3 separate regions of the Homo sapiens genome follow, and regions 1 and 2 are each linked to region 3. Evidence: promoter capture Hi-C in 16 types of primary human blood cells and fetal thymus (Javierre and others, 2016). All regions are on one chromosome and are shown on one strand. The core of a region is centred on a gene start or on the middle of the fragment in contact, and the rest is flanking DNA. Distances in the headings are between cores, read along the strand shown. Region 1 has its middle 5.7 kb from the start of EIF3F. Region 2 overlaps PPFIBP2 (PPFIB scaffold protein 2). Region 3 holds the start of RBMXL2 (RBMX like 2).

Evidence for each region. Contacts are between HindIII fragments. The CHiCAGO score rates a contact against its expected background, and 5 or more counts as called.
Region 1: a contact is called between a fragment that was not itself captured here and the fragment with the promoter of RBMXL2 in region 3, in 3 of 17 cell types (M2 macrophages, M0 macrophages and M1 macrophages). The highest score is 9.3, in M2 macrophages.
Region 2: a fragment that was not itself captured here is called in contact with the fragment with the promoter of RBMXL2 in region 3 in 2 of 17 cell types (naive B cells and total B cells); the score reaches 5.4 in naive B cells.

The regions. Positions count from the first base shown.
Region 1 is chr11:7,980,263-7,982,962 of GRCh38, forward strand. No RefSeq gene overlaps it. Among named protein-coding and RNA genes, the nearest start is that of EIF3F, 5.7 kb to the right of the region's middle. The HindIII fragment of the contact is 4,433 bases long and covers 1-2,700 here.
Region 2 is chr11:7,635,943-7,638,642 of GRCh38, forward strand. All of the region lies in intron 14 of PPFIBP2 (PPFIB scaffold protein 2), which reads left to right. Among named protein-coding and RNA genes, the nearest start is that of CYB5R2, 36 kb to the right of the region's middle. The HindIII fragment of the contact is 4,983 bases long and covers 1-2,700 here.
Region 3 is chr11:7,087,617-7,090,316 of GRCh38, forward strand. It overlaps RBMXL2 (RBMX like 2), which reads left to right and starts at 1,382. Exons shown (of 1, transcript NM_014469.5): 1 at 1,382-2,700. The coding sequence starts at 1,505. The coding sequence ends at 2,683. It also overlaps a transcript of NLRP14 not described here. The HindIII fragment of the contact is 13,917 bases long and covers 1-2,700 here.

The sequences.
Region 1 (2,700 bases), core at 84-2,583, 890 kb after region 3:
AAAAAAACTTAGCCAGGCGTGGTGGTGGGCGCCTGTAGTCCCAGGTACTCGGGAGGCTGAGGCAGGAGAATGGCGCGAATCTGAGAGGCGGAGCTTGCAGTGAGCTGAGATCGAGCCACTGCACTCCAGCCTGGGTGACAGAGCAAGACTCTGTCTCAAAAAAAAAAAAAAAATTAAAATTAAACTAGAGATGTAGCCATTAATATGGCACAGCAATGGTTCAGAGTGGACAAAATAGAAACAAGAGCCAGAAACACTACCAGACACTATGAAACTGTGATACACTGTCATGCATTGCCTAATGATGGTGATACATTCTGAGATATTCATTATTAGGTAATTTTGTTGTTGTGTGAACATCATAGAGTACTTTCGCAGACCTAGATGGTATAGCCTACCACACACCTAGACTTTATGGCATAGCCTATTGCTCCCACGCTACAAACCTGTACAGCATGTTACAGGAAAGAGCAAAGGGCCAAGAATAACCAAGACTTTTTTTTTTTTTGAGACAGAGTCTTGCTCTGTCGTCCAGGCTGGAGTGCAGTGGCTCGATCTCGGCTCACTGCAAGCTCCGCCTCCTGGGTTCACGCCATTCTCCTGCCTCGGCCTCCCGAGTAGCTGGGACTAGAGGTGCCCACCACCACGCCCGGCTAATTTTTTTGTATTTTTAGTAGAGACGGGGTTTTACCATGTTAGCCAGGATGGCCTCAATCTCCTGGCCTCATGATCCGCCCACCTCGGCCTCCCAAAGTGCTGGGATTACAGGCATGAGCCACCACGCCCAGTCCATCATTGACCTAAACATCACTATGTGGTGAACAATTGTATTTTTCTTTTAATGGCACGGTAGATGAATAGGGAAAGGAAGGACAATTCAAAAAATAGAATTTAAAAATCCCACATAGATTGAAGGATAAAAACAATACTTTAAAAAACATCAAAAATACGTAGATAAAATGCCTGTCTCTGGTATTCATATAGGAAGAATTTCTTAAACAAGACCCATAAAAGTCCTAGCCATAAGATAAAGGATTGGTAAATTTAACTACATTAAAATTAAGATCTGTTCTTCAAAATACACCTTAAGGAAAGTGAAAGGAAAAGCTGAAAAGTTAGAGCATATATTTGTAACATTTATGACTGATAAAGGATTGGTATAAAAATATGTACTGAAGTCTTTAAAAAAAAAAGTCCCTCTCAAAAATAAATAATAAATAGAAAACAACCTATAGAACCTAGTAGAAAACAACCTAATAGTAAAGCATATGGAGAGATTTTTTTTAACAGGATTCAAATACATATGGCCACTAAACATATGAAGTGATTTCAACCTCATTAGTAATCAGGAAAATGCAAATTAAGCACACAAATAGATACCATTAACTATCCATCCATTTTTTACAGTTGAGGGAAAAACTAAAACATGACAGAGTTTATTCATCAATGGGAACTTTTATATACTGTTAGAAGGCATGTAAATTGGAACAGCCTCTTTGGAAAACAAGTCTGCATTATCTTGTAAGTATGAATATTCACATATCTTACAACCCAGTTGTCTTAGTCTGTTCAGACTGACACATTGAAATGAGACACAAAATATCACTGACTGGGTGATTTAAACAACAGAAGTTTATTTTCCCACAGTTCTGGAAGGTGGAAGTCTGGCAGCAGTTGACAGCATGGTCAGGTTCAGTGAGGGCTCTGTTCCTGCCTTGCACATGGCCACCTTCTCATCGTGTCCTCACATGAGACACACAGAAAGACTCTTCTTATAAGGCCACAGGCTTATTGGATTAGGGCCCCACTCTTAACAACCTCATTTAACCTTAATTACCTCCTAAAGACCCTATCTCAGATACAGTCATATTGGGGGTTAGAACTCAACACAGAATTTTGAGGAGACAAAATTCAGCCCATACCACTAACTCCCAGGTGCCCAAGAATACATATATAAAAGGATGTTTAAAGCACCAATTTTCATAATATCAACAAATTTAAGCAAGCCACATGTCCACCAACAATAAAATGGAAAATAAATTGTGGTATATTTATACAAAATACTATTATACATCAGTGAAAATGAAGAATGAGCTGCAGTTCTATGCAACAACATGAATACACATCAGTAAACTAAGGTTGAAAAGAAAAAAGAAAGTTCAAAAAATTACTACTTTCAGTATGATACACTTTTTATTGAGCTCAAAAACTAGCAAAATTCAACAATGTATTGTTTAGTCATGCATATATATTTGAAATAAAACTATCATTTTTATGCAAATGATGGATACAAAATTCAGGTGAGTAGTTATTTCTAGGGGTGGGGCAGTAAGGCAGTGAAATATTGATGGATATAACTCATAGTGTCTCAAAAGCCAATTGTTAAATTTTTTAGGACTTTCAAGAGCCCCTTGTCAAACCACTGGTAGCCTGAAATCAGCCATGGTGGGAGTATTTACACCATGGAAACTGGCAAATACTGAAACCAAGAGGCTGGTTGTTAAACATTTACCAGTATACCACTGAATGTAAGCTGTTGCTAGTGTTCCAGTTCTTGGTTTGAGTAGTAAGTTCTGTTCATTATTTTTTAAATGAACAAGGTTCTTAGTTTAGGTAGTAATGTCTGCTCATTATATTATTTAAAAAGAATGAATGAATGTAAACAAAGAGGTTCATGACTGGACCCAAAAAGTCAGCATA
Region 2 (2,700 bases), core at 94-2,593, 550 kb after region 3:
TATGTCATGGTTAAAAAAACACAAGTGTACACTCAGTCCCGCTTTGATGAACAAGTTATGTTATAAAAATTCCATTAGGACTGATCTTCTCCAGGGAAGCCTGTTGTGGAAGAGGATTAAGTTTTTAGGCCAGTGCACAAAATGTTGAGCCCATAAAGAAATGAAGATTCATATAATTAGCATGATTTCAGCCACACCCAACCACCATTTATAACATTATATGGAAAATGTATTGTGAGGCTGATGGCATTTCCCTTCTCTGTCCCCTGCCTCCATGTCCATATGAAACATGGAGCTTCTCATTGCTTGCTGACTTCTGCCTGAGAGGGTCATTTTATATTTTCACGGTAAAATGGGGCATCTCTGCTCCTCCACATCTGCGTAAGAGAAAGATCTTTTCTGCACGTCTGCATCTATATAAGGGGCTTCTCTACTCTTCCATATTTGTAGCAGTTGGTTCTTCAAGTGGGCAGCCATTCCTTGGGCCATCTGAACTGTATAGCAAAAGTCTTCTGCCTGCTCCCCTGCCCAGGTGCTCTGCAACACAGTCCCTTGAGCCTGGGGTTGGTGTGGTCCCTTTGTGAACTGAAAGGCTTCCTATGGCGTCAGCTGTTAAATCGCTCAGCAGTCCCCCCTCCCACCTCAGCGTCACAGAGGTCATTCGCAGGTGTTTCTAAAGCACACCTGTAAGTGACCACCTGCTCCTTTGGAAACACACCCAGCTCACAGGCTCAAGGTTTAAGACGCCAATTTGATTACCAAGAAATATAAGTAACGTAGAACTATTTATAAAGAAAAAAATGCTCCAGATTAAAAGATTAATTCTTACATGGTTTTGGCCATAATCACAATCTTATACAACCTCAGTTATTCAACATGACCACCCTCCCCTCTCACCCACATACACCACCGTCCTCCCCAGAATAGCTACACAGGTGCAGAACCGCTCCACAGTCATCTTTCTGCAGCATCCCTAACTGTAGTGTCTGGCCCTTGCTTAAACTGGCTCTTGCTTTCTGTGACTGAGAGCTCATTTCATTGGAAGACATCCTTTGTATTCTTTTGCAGCTGTGTGAGCTTCTCTAAAATGTGCATCTGCTGATCCTCTCCCTCCACATCTAGCCCATGGAAAAAGTCAATCTCCCCTACTCCTGACAGCTCTGGAATTTAAGTCCCTCATGCCCTCTCTGAGTGCTCTGTTCTCTGGGCTGAACATCACCTTCTCATGTGCATGGATCACAAGCCTTTTAAGCTGCTACTTAGTCTTCTTAGGCTCAGCGCTAGTTTCTCAATGTATTCTTCAAGTTCTGCCCTGGACCAGACTTGGAGTGTGATATTCTAGATGTAGTCTGACCAGTGCCTGCCGTGGTCTAAGGACTCCTCTTCTAGATTGCTATTTCTTTAGGCCCTGGGTATGTGATATTTCCTGTGCTTCTCCTTATCCACTGTCCGCTGTGTGCTAGGCCCTGTGGATATGTTATTTCCTGGCAAACCTGAGGTAGGAATTGTTATTCTCCATTTAGAAATGACCAGAGGTCCTGAGAGGTGGAAGAGAAACAGCTCTGTCTGAGTTGGTCTGACTCAAAGCCTAGGCCCTTTCCACTCTGGCATGCTGCTTCTCTGTTGTAATTTAAAGCAGCTGGATAATCAGTTCTACACTACTCCCTTGGCTGGGGCTTCTGTTCCCCTACAGCCAGGAGGATTGTTCTTTTTGGAGACAGGAGAAACAGAACTGGAGTTGAGCATCCTTGTTTCCTCTGCGTCACGTCTTGACATTGCACTGCCTTCCACATCAGTGAGTCATTTCTTCCCAGCCCTTATTCTTGGCCTGAGCAGAGCTCAGAGAGCCCTTTCCATTGTCCTTGATTCCTTTTTGCTGTCTTTCTTACAGGTCGGGGCTGCCTTTTAAACCCCATCCTTGGGTTAGGTATGTGTTCTCCTTGCATCTCAGCTCCTCAGGGAGCTCCCCGGGTGGCCCACTTGCTTCCTTGGCTGTCTCTGCCCTGCCTTGAGGGAGCATGCGTGATGATGCAACCAGAAACACGTTTTTGAGAGCTCTTCCCCCCTCCATATGTCGTATATAATAGGGAGCTTGGAGTCATGCCCTTCAGGTCTCTAACATCTTTGAACACTACCTTCTCACAGTCAGTGGTTCCTGGGTCTGACTGCATTAGTATAATCTGAGATAATCTGAGATCCTTGTTAAAAATATAGACATCTGGGGTGTGCTTCCAGAGGGACTGAATCAGGGACTGGGCACTGGGAATTCATGTTGTTTTACAAGTGCTCCAGGTAATTATGAAGAGCAGCCGGCACATGAACTACCACTTGGAAACTGTGGGTCTTGACCGTATGTCTGATCATGTCTAATCTTCACCTCATGGGTCATCACAAACTTGAAAATCTCATAGCCTTCCTCTCTGAAGGTTCTAGTTACTTCTACTCCACCAGCCAGTTCTTTCAGAATTCAGTTTCCTCTCACTGTATCTCTCCTTTCTGAACTATTTATGGGGAGTTAATAGTCAATGTTCAATGAATGAACTGAATCTCAAACAATTTCTAGGACATATGTTTATAAGCAAATTGAATTGGAAATATATTGGATATTTGGCCTTTAGCTAAATGGAACTTCATAAGATGTCTCAGTCACAGCAGCCTTCCATTACTGTTGTGACTTGCCAGTTTGAAATCTGTTTTGTT
Region 3 (2,700 bases), core at 132-2,631:
AATTTATAAACTTAGCATTTTTAAGTTAGCATTCAATAAAAACATTAAGGGCAGTCATTCGAAAAAGTAGAAATAGAAGGCATAACTTCTTCCATAGTGGAGGAAAAAGAAACAAAGACAAATCACTTACTACAAGAAAAGGCAAGAAAGATGGAAAAAAGGAAGAAGGAAAGGTTTGGCTGATAGCAAAGATTTAGGAAGAAATTGCAAAAGTACCGAAAGTTATAAGCATCACACAAAATGGACTAAGGTAAAAAGGTTTTTACGAATAAGGAGGATCATTACATAAAAAAGGTATTCACCAGAAATACGTAGCAATTCTCAATTTTTATATATCTCACAATATAACCTTAAATTACATGAAGCAAAAACCAGACATAAAGACAAAGAGAAATTTACAAATCCACAATTATGGTAAATTTTAAGACAGTTCTAGTGTTTGGCAATTCTATCAAATAAAAAACAAGTTAGAAAAGGGAAGATTTAAATATCAGAAAATAAGAAAGAACTTTGTCCAACATTTAGAGAATACACTTTCTGCTCAGTATATATGGAACATTAATTACACCATATTAGGTCACAAAGCAAGTCTCAACGAAAAACAATGGATATCGTACAGAGCATATTAAAAAATAACCAACAGGCACATATGTTTGAAAATTTACAAACATACTTCTTTAATACATGGTCCAAAAAGGAAATAACAAAGATGAGAAAATCTTAGGAACTGAACAACAATGAAAACAACATATATTACAGCTCAAGGCATGATATTAACCAGTGCATAGAGAATAAGTTTTAACCTTAAATATAACAATTAGAAGAAACATTTTTTAAACTCTTAATGTGCTAAGTGTCTTATTTAAAAAATTAGAACAAAATAATATAAACAATAAATCCAATAAATGTAGAAAGAATAAAGACAATAGCACCAAATAAAATCAAAACAGAGGATAGACGAGGCTAAAAGCTGATTAGTTTAAAAAGATCAGTAAGGTAAAATTTAAACTTGTTAACTGTTATTACTCTATTTTTCAATAATTGAAAAATGATTTTTAACTTAATAATTTTAGTAATTTAAAAAATTCATACTATTTTTTTCTGTTTGAAAATGGTTTGGGTAGCTTAGGTTTGGGATCATTACAATTGTTCTCATTAAAACTAATAGAAAAAAATTTTTTTCCACCTAACGGCTTTTCCCTGAGCTTTCAGGAGGCCATTGAAGCCGTTAAGACCGGGTCAGGTGAACAGGAAGTTAAAGACTGAAAAGGAGACACAAAACTGCCGACTTTCCCGACGGCGAATTGGCCCTCTGGAAACAGCCGACCAATCACAGGCAGCAGGGGCGCGCCCTGCAGCGGGGCTCCGGCTGCGGTTCCGTGGACTCGGCGACTAGGCGCCGCCTGACCAGTAGGAGCCGCCCTCGACGAGCGAGCTCGAAGGCTGCGACTGGCGCCGCCTCACCGCCTCCCACCGCCACTGACCGACCGTTCGACCGGCAAACATGGTTGAAGCGGATCGCCCGGGGAAGCTGTTCATTGGGGGCCTCAACCTCGAAACCGACGAGAAAGCCCTCGAAGCCGAGTTTGGCAAGTATGGCCGCATCGTCGAGGTGCTCCTGATGAAAGACCGAGAAACCAACAAGTCGAGGGGCTTCGCGTTCGTCACCTTTGAAAGCCCCGCAGACGCCAAGGCCGCCGCCAGAGACATGAACGGCAAGTCCCTGGATGGTAAGGCCATCAAGGTGGCCCAGGCCACCAAACCGGCGTTCGAGAGCAGCCGGCGGGGCCCGCCGCCTCCCCGCAGCCGCGGTCGCCCGAGGTTCCTGCGCGGAACCCGCGGGGGTGGCGGCGGCCCGCGGCGTTCCCCATCCCGGGGCGGGCCCGATGATGACGGCGGCTACACGGCGGATTTCGACCTGCGGCCCTCCAGGGCCCCGATGCCCATGAAGCGTGGGCCGCCGCCGCGCAGGGTCGGCCCACCCCCCAAGAGGGCCGCGCCGTCGGGCCCGGCTCGCAGCAGCGGCGGTGGAATGCGCGGGAGGGCCCTGGCCGTGCGGGGGCGAGACGGCTACTCAGGCCCACCGCGCCGGGAGCCGCTGCCCCCGCGCCGCGACCCCTACCTGGGCCCGCGGGATGAGGGCTACTCGTCCAGAGACGGCTACTCGAGCCGAGACTACCGCGAACCCCGGGGTTTTGCCCCCTCGCCCGGAGAGTACACCCACCGCGATTACGGCCACTCCAGTGTCCGGGACGACTGTCCCTTGAGAGGCTACAGCGACCGAGACGGCTACGGAGGTCGCGACCGTGACTACGGGGATCATCTGAGCAGAGGCTCCCATCGAGAGCCCTTTGAGAGCTACGGAGAGCTGCGCGGCGCCGCCCCAGGACGGGGGACACCGCCATCTTACGGAGGAGGAGGCCGCTACGAGGAGTACCGGGGCTACTCACCCGATGCCTACAGCGGCGGCCGCGACAGTTACAGCAGCAGTTATGGCCGGAGCGACCGCTACTCGAGGGGCCGACACCGGGTGGGCAGACCAGATCGTGGGCTCTCTCTGTCCATGGAAAGGGGCTGCCCTCCCCAGCGTGATTCTTACAGCCGGTCAGGCTGCAGGGTGCCCAGGGGCGGAGGCCGTCTAGGAGGCCGCTTGGAGAGAGGAGGAGGCCGGAGCAGATACTAAGCAGGAACAGACTTGGG